Linked DNA regions of Homo sapiens: regions 2 and 3 are each linked to region 1. Evidence: promoter capture Hi-C in 16 types of primary human blood cells and fetal thymus (Javierre and others, 2016). All regions are on one chromosome and are shown on one strand. The core of a region is centred on a gene start or on the middle of the fragment in contact, and the rest is flanking DNA. Distances in the headings are between cores, read along the strand shown. Region 1 holds the start of MAOA (monoamine oxidase A). Region 2 has its middle 100 kb from the start of MAOA. Region 3 has its middle 92 kb from the start of MAOA.

Region 1 (4,689 bases), core at 37-2,536:
AGGGCTGCGGGAAGCAGAACACCGCCCCCAGCGCCCAGCGTGCTCCAGAAACATGAGCACAAACGCCTCAGCCTCCTTCCCCGGCGGCACCGGCACCGGCACCAGTACCCGCACCAGTACCGGCACCGGCACCAGTACCCGCACCAGTACCGGCACCGGCACCAGTACCCGCACCAGTACCGGCACCGGCACCGAGCGCAAGGCGGAGGGCCCGCCCGAAGCCGGGGGCACAACTGCCCAGGTCCCGAACCCGGACTCCAGCTTGGACGACACCTCCTACAGCCTGTCCGAATGGAGCGTCCGTTCTGAGTGGCGGTCCGTCTCGGATCCGCTAGCCAGTTCCCAGTGGAGCACGTCCTCAACTGCCGAGGCCGCCTCCTGGAGCTCCAGCATACACTCCCCAATCAGCACTACCGGTCTTAGCGAGAGTACTGACTCCGACTCCAAGAGTGGCCTCCGGGGTTTCAGCGCTTACAACCCGAGCAGTCGGATCCCCAAGTCTACCACCAGCTCGAACTCCTCCGATGGGGCCGTCACAGCCTCCAATCAGGACACCGGCATTCCCTGGGTATTAGTAACAGGACCTACCCCGCCCGTAAACTCCCCCGTAGAGTCATTGCAAGGGTCTGCCTTCTCCTCAGGGTTCAGCACCCCACGGGGTTTGGTAAAAGGACCGACCCTGCCCCCGGATTCCAACCTGACCTCAGTGTCCGACTACACTTGGATATTTGTACGGGGACCTCCTATACCCAATGACCTTTCGCAAGTGTCAATACAAGCACCTCCTACACCCAGTAACACCCCCGAGTGTCAGTACAAGGGTCTGCCGCATCCTCAGTGTCCAGCTTCCCCTGGGGTTTGGTACCAGGACCACCTCTACCCAATAACATTTCCCCAGTGTCGCCACAAGCACCTCCTGCACCCCATAACATCCCCCCAGTGTCAAGGCAGGCGTCTACCCCCACCTCAGTGCCTGACACTCCGCGGGGTTCAATACAAGAACCTCCTGCACCCAGTAATCCTTTCCAGCTGCCGACACAAGGACATTCTAAACCTAATAACTCTCGCCGAGTGTCAGTACAAGGGTCCGCCCCGCTCTCAGTGCCCAGCTCCCCCCGGGTATCAGCTGAAACATCAGCTCCGCCCCTGGGCGCTCCCGGAGTATCAGCAAAAGGGTTCGCCCCGCCCACAGTGCCCGGCTCCCCCCGGGTATCAAAAGAAGGATCGGCTCCGCCCCCGGGCTCCCCGGGGGAGTTGATAGAAGGGTCCTTCCCACCCTTTGCCGTCCCCACTCCTGTGCCTACGACCCAGGAGCGTGTCAGCCAAAGCATGGAGAATCAAGAGAAGGCGAGTATCGCGGGCCACATGTTCGACGTAGTCGTGATCGGAGGTGGCATTTCAGGTCAGTGTGGACCGTAGCGGTGGCCTGGGGGACCCTGGCCAGTGAGGGGTAGGGGAACCTACAGTAGCTCTTGTGGTGTTTGGGGGTCTCTCATGCATGCGAGAGTGTAGTGTAGCCATGGCTTGGCCCCATATCCTGCGAGGTAGGAGTGGGGGTTGTGCCAGTTTTGCTGGTGGTGTGACTGGGGGAGGCAGACACAATAATTTTACTACTACTACTATTAAATACTAATATTTAATTAGCTCTTGCTGTGCAGTTGTATTTAGCACTTTACGTGGATTTTCTCAGTCCTCAACAGTCCTGTGAGGTGGGAACTAAATTCATCCCCGTTTTGCAAAACCAAGAAACTGAGGTCTGGGGAGTTTCAATAACTCTCTTGAGGTCGAATCACCTAGCTTGTAAGTGGCTGAACGATTTTCTCCCATTTAAGACCTGCAGTACTAATTCCTGAGGTGGCTGCTTTGCCTCACTGATTTCATATCCTTTGCCCTAAACAGAACATCAGGATACAGATTTCTGTAGTATTGAGGGAGCAGTAGTGTTATTCCAGTCCTGCTCTTCTCTATTTTCCGTAGAAAATTTAGTAGGTGAAGAGGAAGGAGGTAGACTCCTTTAAGAAAAGGTTAAAAAAAAAAAGAGGAGAAGAGGGGGTGAGCTCTTAAACTATTCCTGTGTGTGTGTGTGTGTGTGTGTGTGTGTGTGTGTGTATGAACTGTGTTTATATATATATATGAACTGTGTTTATATATATATATGAACTGTGTTTATATATATATATGAACTGTGTTTATATATATATATGAACTGTGTTTATATATATATATGAACTGTGTTTATATATATATATATGAACTGTGTTTATATATATATATATATGAACTGTGTGTGTGTATATATATATATGAACTTGCAGGAAGGTGTAGGACATTTATTGTCCAAAGAGAATCCCTTTATGAAGCAGGGGCTGAGTGCCCTGTTGTATCCTCCTTCCTCCTTTCACTAAGAGCTCCCACCACCTGAATCTTGTCTTCTGATGAGCCAGTTGGTGGGCCAGGGTGCCCCTGGTCCTGGCTTGGATTTGTGGCTAACCAAGTGAGTGGTGCATGAGGCTTTCCAATATCTTCCTGGAAGCCTCATCATGATTGATATATTGTCGCCTATGTTGCCATCATTGGTAAAATGTTTGAAAATTAGGAATTTTGTTGCCTTTCATCCCTGGCTAGAATACCACACTGACCTATCCTCCCCCTACTAGGTGTTAATAATTTCTGAGTTATCCCTGCAGGATCTGATTCAGAAAGAGAAAGCTGATGGGAGGGAGTAAGTAGAGTGGCCCCACAGTAGCCATTTTTATATATAAATCTTTCGAGGAGACTCTGAACATGCTACAAATTAATGTTGGGTAGAGATAGCTTTATCTGAACCCAACATTGTTTATCCTGAACAGGCCAAGAGAAGAGATTGGCATGAACTGTTGCTTTGCCAGTTCCAGCCAGTACCAGCAAAAACATACATGTATGTTGGAGCATCAGAGGAAAGCAGCTCCTGGTGGAGAGTAAGAAAAAGGAGTATTTCAGCTTGTTTCTCTTTATTTATTTATGTATTTATTTATTCATTCAAAAAACACTTGTTGAGTACCTGCAATGAAGTGGACTGCTGTTTCCCAAAATCTGGTCCCACTAGGCAAGCCTCCTAAAAGCAATATGGTTGTAGATCACTGGAAAATAAATATGATGACAATGTGTTATATACATTGACTAGGGGTTCTGGGTCCTCTCCCATCTCCATACCATCTGTATTCTGCAATTCAGAGTTCTTTCTGGGATTTTATTCTTAGTCTTTTTCTTGTTCAGTCTCCAGAATTCCTTAAGGAGCGCGGTTTTTTTATTTTTCCTCTGCCTGATTACCTGCTCTTCCTCCCTTTCTATACTTTATGCTCCATACTTGGTCATTAGCAGAGGTGAAATTACCATGTAGCTGATAAACTTTATGCTTTATGGCCTTATAACTGTAGGTTGCTTCTGGTTCTCATTCTAAATAAATAACCAGTTTCATACTCAGTCCTGTATTTGCAATTTTGCTTTCTTATTTCTTAGAGAGGATACCCAAGTTATATATAAGTTGTAGGTCCCACAAAACCTGAATCTGTCCATAGTCACTCTTAATTATTAATTTATTTCCATTTGGGGGAAGTAGAGGGCATTTCTTGCACAGTAGTTCACACCTCTATTCCAGAGGCCAGCTTCAGTGACACTGGAAAAAGCACTTGACTTCCTCTAATGCCATCTCCATCAGTCAGATCTGAGTGATTTTAATACTCAAACTGACCAGAAACATTGCTTTCTATCTGTGGTACCTTCCCAGATGGTTCACAGCTAAAATGAAAGTAGTTGCAAGTGTGGCTCGTGTTAGATCCTGGACATAAACTGAGTGTTTCATGAGCGGGTGAGAAGCATCACTTCCCAAGCATTCTTGTGAATTCAGAAACATACCATTTTTGTGTGTGCTTGGCAGTATCCCATGAATTACTTAATAGTCCCTGTGGCAGTTTTATATGCCTTTGGATGTTCTTTATAACTTTTATTAGGACTTGTACACTTTGATAGGTTACCCACACATTCATAATACATCACCAATCCATAGCATCAGCAGTGTTATTTCTATTATATAGCACCCAGAAGAGTACATATTCTAAGTGACATTACTCAAAATTGATCCATATTAGCAACATTTTTTAAATAACTCTCTACACAGAGAATAGCAGCATCTGGATGTATCTCCTTTTTTGTCATTATAAAACATAAAATAGACTATGTCTTACAACCACAAACTCTTTTTATCTGCCTAACCACCAATTAAATAATTATATATAGTATGTTAATAGTTGAGAGGGGAAATAACCCTGCTGATTTGTTGGTCTAGTGGTATCTTTAAAATGCTCTGGTCCTTAACCATCATTCATCATCTATCACCCATTCCTTTTTGAAACTCCTTTCATGTTTTCAGCGATGCTATTGGATCCTGAATTTTTATCCCATACTGATTGCTGCTTTTCCATCCCTTTCATTGTGCTCATATTCTTGCAAACATCTGGTTTTGAAAGGTTTCACTGTTCATCACTTTGGGGCTCTTGGTACTCTCTCCCTCTCTTTCTCATTCTAGGACTTCAGCTGTCCCTTATCTATAGAAAACTCTCAAGTCTCTGATTTGAATCCTCTTCCTTCCCTGAACTCCTGTCCCATAGCTTATCTGCTCCTGGGTATTTCACGATTGAACACTTCAGGTTC
Region 2 (4,526 bases), core at 267-2,766, 99 kb after region 1:
TGTTAAATGGAGCTAGCTGTTCAGTTGTTCTGAGCATTCAATAGGATCACATAAGTGAAGTTGTTACAGTACTAACAATAAATGATAGCTTTAAAGAAATAAAGGATCTCTTTGTGGTCTACTATGATTCCTACTTCAAAAATACATCTCAAATTACTTTTCTCCACTAGTAACTCCTCTCTGATTAGTCATCTCTTGCTAAAATGCCCTGGTTTCCCTTTTACTACACCACCCGAGCAGCCCAAGTAGATCTTTTAAAACTGCAAATCTGATCCTGTCAGTCCAGACTCAAGCCCTTTCAATAGCTGCTCAATGAACTTTGGATATGACGCACTGTGGCTCCCAAGGCCTTGCATGCTCTTTTTTCTGCCTGTTTCCCTACCCTCGTCTCTGGTCACTCCACTCTCCCTCAGAACCTTCCAGCCATCTCGTTCTCATAAATCCTCAGATATATCCAGTTCTTTTCTGTCTTGGTTCCCTCTCCATGGAAGGTTATTTTCTCCATTCTTCAGTTGGCTAAATCCTTTAGGTTATTTCCCAAGGGATGAAATAGCACTTCCTCAGAGATGCATTTCCTGAGAAACCCCCCGGACAATTAATTCTCCATTATAATCTCTTATCACTGCTTTAAAAAAATTATTTTCCATAAGTGATTCGGGTACAGGTGGTATTTGGTTACATGAGTAAGTTCTTTAGTGGAGACTTGTGAGATCCTGATGCACCCATCACTCGAGCAGTATACACTGCACACTATTTGTTGTCTTTTATCCCTCGCCTCCCTCCCGCTCTTCCCCGCCAAGTCCCCAAAGTCCATTGTATCATTCTTATGCCTTTGTGTCCTCATAGCTTAGCTCTCACATATCAGGGAGAACATATGATGTTTGGTTTTCCATTCCTGAGTTACTTCACAAAAGAAGATATACAAATGGCCAACAAACATATGAAAGAATGCTCTTATCACTGCTTTTGTTTTCCCTCCATAAAGATTCACAATTACATATTTTTTGAAATGCTTGTTTAATGTCTCCCCAAATGACAGACCCCACCACGAATGGGTTGTATCTATGTAGAGATCTGGAGGCCATCAGTTCTCCAGTCAGAGGAATAGGAACTTGGGTGGCCACAGCCCCTAAGCTACTAGCTTCCATGCATTCAGTAACTGTATCCATTTACCCAGTGTGCCAAAACAAATGCAATCATTTTTTTTCTGTGTAATGTGATGTGAAAAAGGTTGGCAAGCACTGCCTTATGCCACTATTTTTGGTATAGATAGAGAGATAAGCAAGTAGCCATCAAGGATCCAGGTTTTACTACGAAACATCACTTGCATGAGAAAAAGTAAAACCCACTGTCATTTCCCAGGACCACAATTTCATATGGTGCCCAGTATCATAATGGTAATGACATACCTTCAAACATATCCAACTACAAATTCAAGTTTTCTGCTCTTTAATTATTTCACTTCCATTGTAACATGCCCTCAAAAGAATGAATTTAAATGAGCCAATTAGTAACCGAAGGTCAGTCTGGAAGAAATAATTGACAGAACCAGTCCTCAGATCTCACCAGGGCTCTTGGATTTAAACTGGAATCCAAGAGAGAAGCATTTATTCATTATTTATTTCATCCGATCATTTATGACAAGCCTGGCCTCTCAGGGAAGCTGGATATCTGGCTGAAATGCAAAATTAACAAATTAAAATTAACAAGCACAGAAAACAAAAACAAAAAAAATCCAGTCTCTCTCCAGCTTACTCCAAGGGCTAGGACTGACACCGGGTGTACCCAGGAAGGGTGCTCTTGGCTTCTCAGAGTTGGGCTAACCTTCTCCCCACCCCCACACATGAATCCATGGTAAAAATTTCCAGTTAGGTAAAGACAGAAGACAGTATTGGGATAATGTAAGCGTCGTTTGGCATCAGGTGGGTGCTTTTGAGCACTCAGCAGATCACATCCTTCACGGATCGGCATTGAGGGAAATGAGGGTTCTGCACAGCAGTCCCTCTGAGACAGGGAGAAGGGGCCCATGTATGGCACAATGCCCTCTCCTGGGACAGGGACAGACTCAGTATGGTGGGGTGGCCAGGGTGAGCAAAGGGAAACGACAGCCTTAGTGGTCAGGAAACAGTTAGCGGAGAAGATGGGCTTGCCGCACAAGGACTTAGCCATCCTCAGTCTGGGTTTCAGGCAAACAGGTCCAGGGTGTCTTTGTGGGGATGGGTTGGCAGAGGATAATAGCAGGAAATCTAGGAAACACACACTTTTAGGCTCAGACAGGAGAGCCCTACACATAAGGAGCAGAGGATAAGGAATTGCTAATGGCTACTGGGCATGGAGCCTTGGTCCTGTACCCTGAGGCAGACCCATCTCTGTGAGAGGATGGGATCTGAGATCTAGTCCGAGGCCTGTGGTCTGCACTGGGCACCTTAACTACCCTGTTTTCATCACAGATCCCTTTGGGGCAGGGATATGGCTGGCACCCAGGTGCTGCTGATGTCTTGCTCCCTGGTTGAATATGACTTTTTGCACGCCTGCTGAATACTGGGCCCTTGAATCCACCTGGATTAGCCTCTGCAGAACCTTGATTGAATAATCTGCCAGCAACACTGGGACCCTGCTGCTCTTCCCTGCCCGCCTATCTGGGTCACCCTACTAAGCTGTGCATATGGCGTTTTTGGCACTGCCAGCCTGGATGGGTTGGGGTGGAGAAAGAGCCTCACTGGACCCGGGTGACTCTCCTCTCCTTGGCTTCTCAAAGAAGGAAATCCTGGAGCTGAGTGGCTAAAGACAAAATGTAGAAATTCTCCAGGCTGACAACAGGGTAGGACACCTAAGGCAGAGGAAGTAGCACTTCCCGCAGGTACAAGCCCCAGGGAAAGGTTCTTGGGCCATAGTCTGCTGGGTGGACCAAAGGCCTATAGAAATTATCAGAGCCTTCCCCGCTTTCATATCTTTATTCTAGATTTTTCACCCATCCACTTTTTCATAGAGCCCTTTCAAATAGGGAACCCAACCTTCTGAGGTCAAGCTATGAAAAGCGTCATTTTAGCATGCCTGCTGACCCCTGGGAAGCACTGGACATATTTGGAGTCCTCTTCTTACCATCAGCAGGATCTTGAAAAAGGAGGCAGTCACCCACTGAAAGCACTCCAGAGGAAATCAAGGAGAAACATGAGGAAGAGCTGACATTAAGGAGGCCGGCAGAAAGAAGAGTTCAGAGGGTGATGGGGAAGGAAGAATCATTGAGTCCCCCAACATCCTGAAGTCACCTTGTGCTAGTGTTGCCCAGAATTTCATCTTTGGAGTAGACTTTTTCCCTGAGTTGACCACAACTTGATAAAGCTTATTTACACTAAAGTGAGACGTGCCAGGAATCCATTTGGTGGGCCAAAGGTGCATTTTGATAGACCCCAGTCTAAGAGGATTTCTGATGTAACATTTCAGACAGTGCGATAAAATGAAACAAAAACATTTTCAGGCCTTGGTCAATGGGTCTTTGCTGGAGTCCCTCAGATTCCCTACCTAGACAGCAGTCGGCCTTCCCTGTGCCCACCTGCTTGTCCACATTCTCCTCATCCACTTACTGCTCACACACCATCTCCTTTTGTTTTGTTTTGTTAACTTAGTGTTTAAATGTGTTGCTGGATGTTGTCTCAAATTCTCTGGGAAGTAGCAGACAATAAGCAAATACATAAATACAGCAGCAGATTGTTTAACCAGGTGTCCAAACACCAGAAATATAAAACACAAATGTTTTTAAAAGATTTTAAAACAACTATTACTCACTTTTTTACATCAGCTTGCTATAATCACTGAAAAGCTGCAATAATGGAGATTATAATGAATGATTACAGTGAAATCACTGTAATCTGAGTACATAATTTGTCATAGCTCTTAGATATATATTTCTTTTGGGGATCACTGCTGTTTGTAATTGAGTAAATAGATATTGAACATTTCACATTTAATGGTTGGGTGTCTCGGGGCTCATCTTCAAATATTGCTCTGTTTACACTCAATCCCACAGCTCCCCAAATTATATCACCAGCCCCAACCTCTCCCTGGAACTCTAATGTACATAGTCAAAAGCCTACTCAACCCCTCCATTCGGATCTTCATGGATCTCCACGGATCTGTATCTTTATTACTCTAGACCAAGCCACCAGAGTCTCTGGCCTGGACAACTAACTTTCCAGGCCTCCTAGATAGTCTACTGCTTTCAGTCTTACCACACAGAAGCCTGCTTTCCACATCACTAAGTGTCTCACAGGGTGGAATTTCCAGGAAGCAGACTCTGTGATGGAGATTTGCATGCAAGAAGCTTATTGGAATGTGCCCTTGGGATCAATACCTGCGAAGGAGTGAGGGAAGCAAATTGGGCAGAGGATGAAGCAGAACTCTGAAGCAATTGCAATAAAGGTTTTAGGTGATTCCACGGGGAGGTCTGGAACTAAAATAGTTCTTTGTACCCACTCATTGGATTTCGACTACTCCTAGGAAGGGGCATGCTTTGGGACAGGGGGTTT
Region 3 (4,458 bases), core at 1,575-4,074, 92 kb before region 1:
GAGAATCTCTTGAACCCGAGAGGCAGAGGTTGCGGTGAGCCAAGATTGCACCATTGCACTCCAGCATGGGCAACAAGAGTGAAACTCCATCTCAAAAAAAAGAGGTAAGACCTTTAAGAGGTGATTAGGTCATGAGGACTTTTTCCTCATGAATAGATTAATGCCATTATCACAGGGGTGGACTAGTTAGCCCAAGAGTTTGGCCCTCTTTTTCTCGCTGTACCTTGTGCACTCTCACCTTCTCTCACCATGTGATGCCTTCCACCATGGGATGATGCAACATGAAGGATTTCACCACAGGCGGACCCTGAATCTTGGACTTCCCAGCCTCCAGAACCATGAGCCAAATTTATTTTGTTTATAAATTGTCCAGTCTCAGGTATTCTGTTCTAGTAACACAAAATGGACTAAGACATTTAGTCGATTAACTTCCTAGGCAAAGGAAAGCATGCCTTTGAAGAAATGCACTGATTTCTTCACTGAGAGAAAAAAATAGTTTTTAAATACCAGGCAGCAGGTTTCATAGTGGTTATACTAATTGAGGATTAAAAACTAGCACTCTGGCTAACATAGAATGAATCCATAGGTCTGACAAGGTTGGTTTACTCAATTCCTATTATTCATTGGTGAGGAAAGCATCATCAGTTAGGTCCAGTCAGTGTTTGGCTTACCAGGGGCACTCAAACAGTGTGGTTTTAGTTTTTTGAAAACAAAAATACTTCATCTGTTTACAGACAGTTGCAATGACGCACAACATTTAGTTTTGGTATTTCTTAGGCAAGTGTTGCTGTACTTAAAACATCTTCCTTTGGTAATGAGGGCACTGGGGAGGAGGACATGGGGGAAGGGAAGGTGATGAAAGCATTGAAGATCCTCTCAGGTTACTGCCTTACATGATGAATTGGATAAGAATACCATTGACTGTGGTCCTGAATACCAAAAAAAAAAAAAAAAGGGGGGGGGGTTATGGGTAGGCAGGTGATGAGAAAAAAAATCAGACATCTTGGCCATAGTGAATTTGAAATACCAGTGGGATAGACAAGTCTGCAATACAGAGGCTCTAAAGAAAGGCTTGAGATACAGCTCTGGCAGCCAGCATTGCTCAAGAGGAGCATGAAGAAAGGCAGTGAGCGAAGAAAGGCAGTGGGCAAAGAAAGATTGTGATGGTTAATTTTACATGTCAACTTGGCTGGGCAAACAATGCCGGGATATTCAGTCAGACATTATTCTGGATGTTTCTCTGAAGGTGTTTTTGGATGAGATTAACATTTAAATTGGTGGACTTTCCCTCCATAATGTGAGTGTGCCTCATCCAATCAGCTGAAGGCCTGAATTGAAGAAAAGACCAACTCCCCCCAAGCAAAGAGGAATCTGGCCAGCCGATGGTCTTCTGACTTGAACTGCAACATCAGCTCTTCCCTGGGTTTCCAGTCTGAAGGAATTCAGACCTGAACTGTAGATTTTGGACTTGCCAGCCTCCATAATCACATGAGTCTATTCCTTAAGTGGCTCTACATACACACACATCCTACTGGTTCTGTTTCTCTGAAGAACCCTGACTAACACAGACATCTATCCCTCAGCCTTTTGCTATTTACATTAAAGTAGGAAAGTAACTATTTTCGGGTGGAATGAAAACATCTTTCCTTTCCTGAAAGGAATAGAGATCCTTGACAGCAGGAAATACATATTAGTCAAGCTTATACCACCCATCCCTAACCCTGCCCCTCATCCAGGATATGGAGAACCAGTTTTCTGTTGCTCATAATTTTAACTCTAGTGATACTGACACTAGATAATGACTCTGGTGATAGGACTATTAAGTCTCCTCCTGACTGGCCATCAGACTTCTTCTGAGGGAAAAAAAGAGACCCTATCTCTAAAGGGATTGATGAAAGAAAATAGGGCCAGCTTCTCCATATCTTGTTCCTGCAAAGGTAAGGCATAGTTTTGGGCACTGTCCTCTTGAGGAGAAGTTTTAGCATCTCCAGACTCATTCTGTTTCATAAGGCTAACAAGAAACCCTGAGTGGGCATCTGCTTGAGAATCACTGACCTAGGGTACTTCTTTTCAAACTCTAACATGCATATGAATCACTTGGGGACCCTGTTACAAAGCAGATTCTGATTCAGCAAGTCCTGAGTAGGGCCTGAGCATCTACATTTCTAGGAACCTCCTGAGTTATGCCTATTCTGTCAATTCATGGTCCCCAGTTTAGTAGCAAAGTCCTAAAGAGCAGGAAGTTACAAATGCCCAACTGACTTCTTTACAAAAATCAGGATAGCTTTTTGAAGAATTAGGCAACAGGCTTCACGTGGCCCAGTGGAGAGCTCTGAGTAATAACTGTTCTCTTGATAGTTGTCTTCTGTGCGCACATTTATTTTGGGGGACCTTACAGATAAGAGTAACTTGTTAAGGACTAGTCTCTTGTCCATCAGAAGTGAGAAGGGGAGATAAGGTATGTCAGCAATTCCTCATGTGTCTTGTCTTCGTGAAGTTTTTTCTCTTTTTTATTTTTCCAAGACTGAGTCTTGCTCTGTCACCCAGGCTGGAGTGCAGTGGCGCAATCTCGGCTCACTGCAACCTTTGCCTCCCAGGTTCAAGCAATTCTCCTGCCTCAGCCTCCTGAGTAGCTGGGATTACAGGCACCCACGACCATGCCTGGCTAATTTTTGTATTTTTAGTAGAGATGGGGTTTCACCACGTTGGCCAGGCTGGTCTCGAACACCTGACCTCGTGATCCGCCAGCCTCAGCCTCCCAAAGTGCTGGGATTACAGGCGTGAGCCACCGCGCCAAGCCCTGAAGTAATTTTTATAGGTTTAAAACTATATACACAGAGGCCTGGCTATTATGTGCTTGGCCTCACCCTCTTTGACCAGCACTAGATATTGCTCTCAATCAGGGTCTCTGCCGGTTTAAACAAACTGATTGTGAAAAGTTACAGTTAGCAAGTAGCATTTGTAATGAATTCCCCTCCTCCTGGTTCAACATCTAAATGTAAACATACCTCTATTATTTTCCATCAGTACTGTCACTGACAGGAATAGAACCCCACAACCATTATCCCATTACATTTATTTTTCTTGCTAATGAGTTTGCACTAGCAGCAACGGTCTACCCAGGATCCAACTTATGTCCCTGGTTCCACTAATACCAGATCCAACTTCCATTATGTGTGAAGTCACCTTTCCAAGCTACAGGCTTGCTTACTGCCTGTGGGATGTTGGGAACTTAGGAGACTGGATGTTTTGAACCTACCTCCAGTGAAATGTTCTATTGGGATGGATATGATTTGACGCACTGTGGAACGTGCTCCAGGAGAGGGATCCACTTACCTGAAACTCCACATTTTTATGAAGAAGTAGAGAGGAGAGAGGGAATATCCAACCAGTCTTGTAAACATCAATTAAAATTCCTTGAGCTCACAGAGTCAGAAAAATATCTTTCTGATAGGAGGAACATGCCATTCTCAAACATCAGGCAGGCAGGGAAGTTTGCACACCCATGCCAGAACCAGCTAGGGAAACAGCATTTCCTAAGCTACCTATGGTACAGGGGAGGGGAGCTACTTACAGTGGATGAGTGGGTGGCTGGGGGGTGGGTGTGCAAAGGGAACTATCTATAGGGGTGGGGCAACCTGGGCTGTCTAATAGACAAATGGGCTTATGTCTGTCTCCTCTAAAAGCTATTTTAAGAGGCCCACAGTGTATACACAACCTCTGTGGGATGGTATAATTAATCCATAAGTAATTAAAGAACATGAGCCTAGGGAAGATAGCTTCTTAAACCAAAACATAGTGGGGCAGGGTGGAAACCAATGAAAAAAGAATTGAAAGAAAATAAAGGACTAAGAAAAACCAACACCTGTCATGTCTTGACTTTAGGAATCAGACATAAGTGAGCGGAGAATCTTAGTTCTGTCCATTCAAAACCAATTCAGCAGGCAATTAAAGCTTTAGAGATAGCATAGACACATCTAGAAAGAGTTGGAATCTAACAGAACATGAACCAACTCAAGAAAACACAGAAACTATCAGAGTCCAGGCTGATACCATAAGAAAAGAAACAAGGTGGCTCTAAACTGGAGAGAATGCTGTACCCAGCCCTGCCCCAACTTGGGAGAAGGTTGACTAACTGATCTTGTTTTAAAATATAGGAGTAAATATTTGATAGACTTGGAAAACACACAAAAAGTAAGCACTAGAGGTAAGGTAAAATTATCCCAAATCCCGCAACTCAAAGAGAATTTGTGTTAGATTTCTTCTGCTCTTTTCCTTAGGCACATTATTTTCTCTTTTTAAAGACTGGGATTATGATATATAACAGTATCATGCAGTACTATTTGAATTCTAAAACTTTTGTGAAGTATTAAATAATTAAAATTGAACATAGCTGCAAGACTTATAGTGAAAATAAACAGGTTTTTCTTCCATGCTCCACCTTAACATTTCATAAGT

The links. Contacts are between HindIII fragments. The CHiCAGO score rates a contact against its expected background, and 5 or more counts as called.
Region 2: a contact is called between a fragment that was not itself captured here and the fragment with the promoter of MAOA in region 1, in 1 of 17 cell types (M2 macrophages). The highest score is 5.3, in M2 macrophages.
Region 3: a fragment that was not itself captured here is called in contact with the fragment with the promoter of MAOA in region 1 in 1 of 17 cell types (M2 macrophages); the score reaches 6.9 in M2 macrophages.

The regions. Positions count from the first base shown.
Region 1 is chrX:43,655,013-43,659,701 of GRCh38, forward strand. It overlaps MAOA (monoamine oxidase A), which reads left to right and starts at 1,287. Exons shown (of 15, transcript NM_000240.4): 1 at 1,287-1,402. The coding sequence starts at 1,330. RefSeq lists a silencer at 1-189 and an enhancer at 121-180. The HindIII fragment of the contact is 10,667 bases long and covers 1-4,689 here.
Region 2 is chrX:43,753,615-43,758,140 of GRCh38, forward strand. No RefSeq gene overlaps it. Among named protein-coding and RNA genes, the nearest start is that of MAOA, 100 kb to the left of the region's middle. The HindIII fragment of the contact is 3,648 bases long and covers 1-3,340 here.
Region 3 is chrX:43,561,791-43,566,248 of GRCh38, forward strand. No RefSeq gene overlaps it. Among named protein-coding and RNA genes, the nearest start is that of MAOA, 92 kb to the right of the region's middle. The HindIII fragment of the contact is 2,255 bases long and covers 1,698-3,952 here.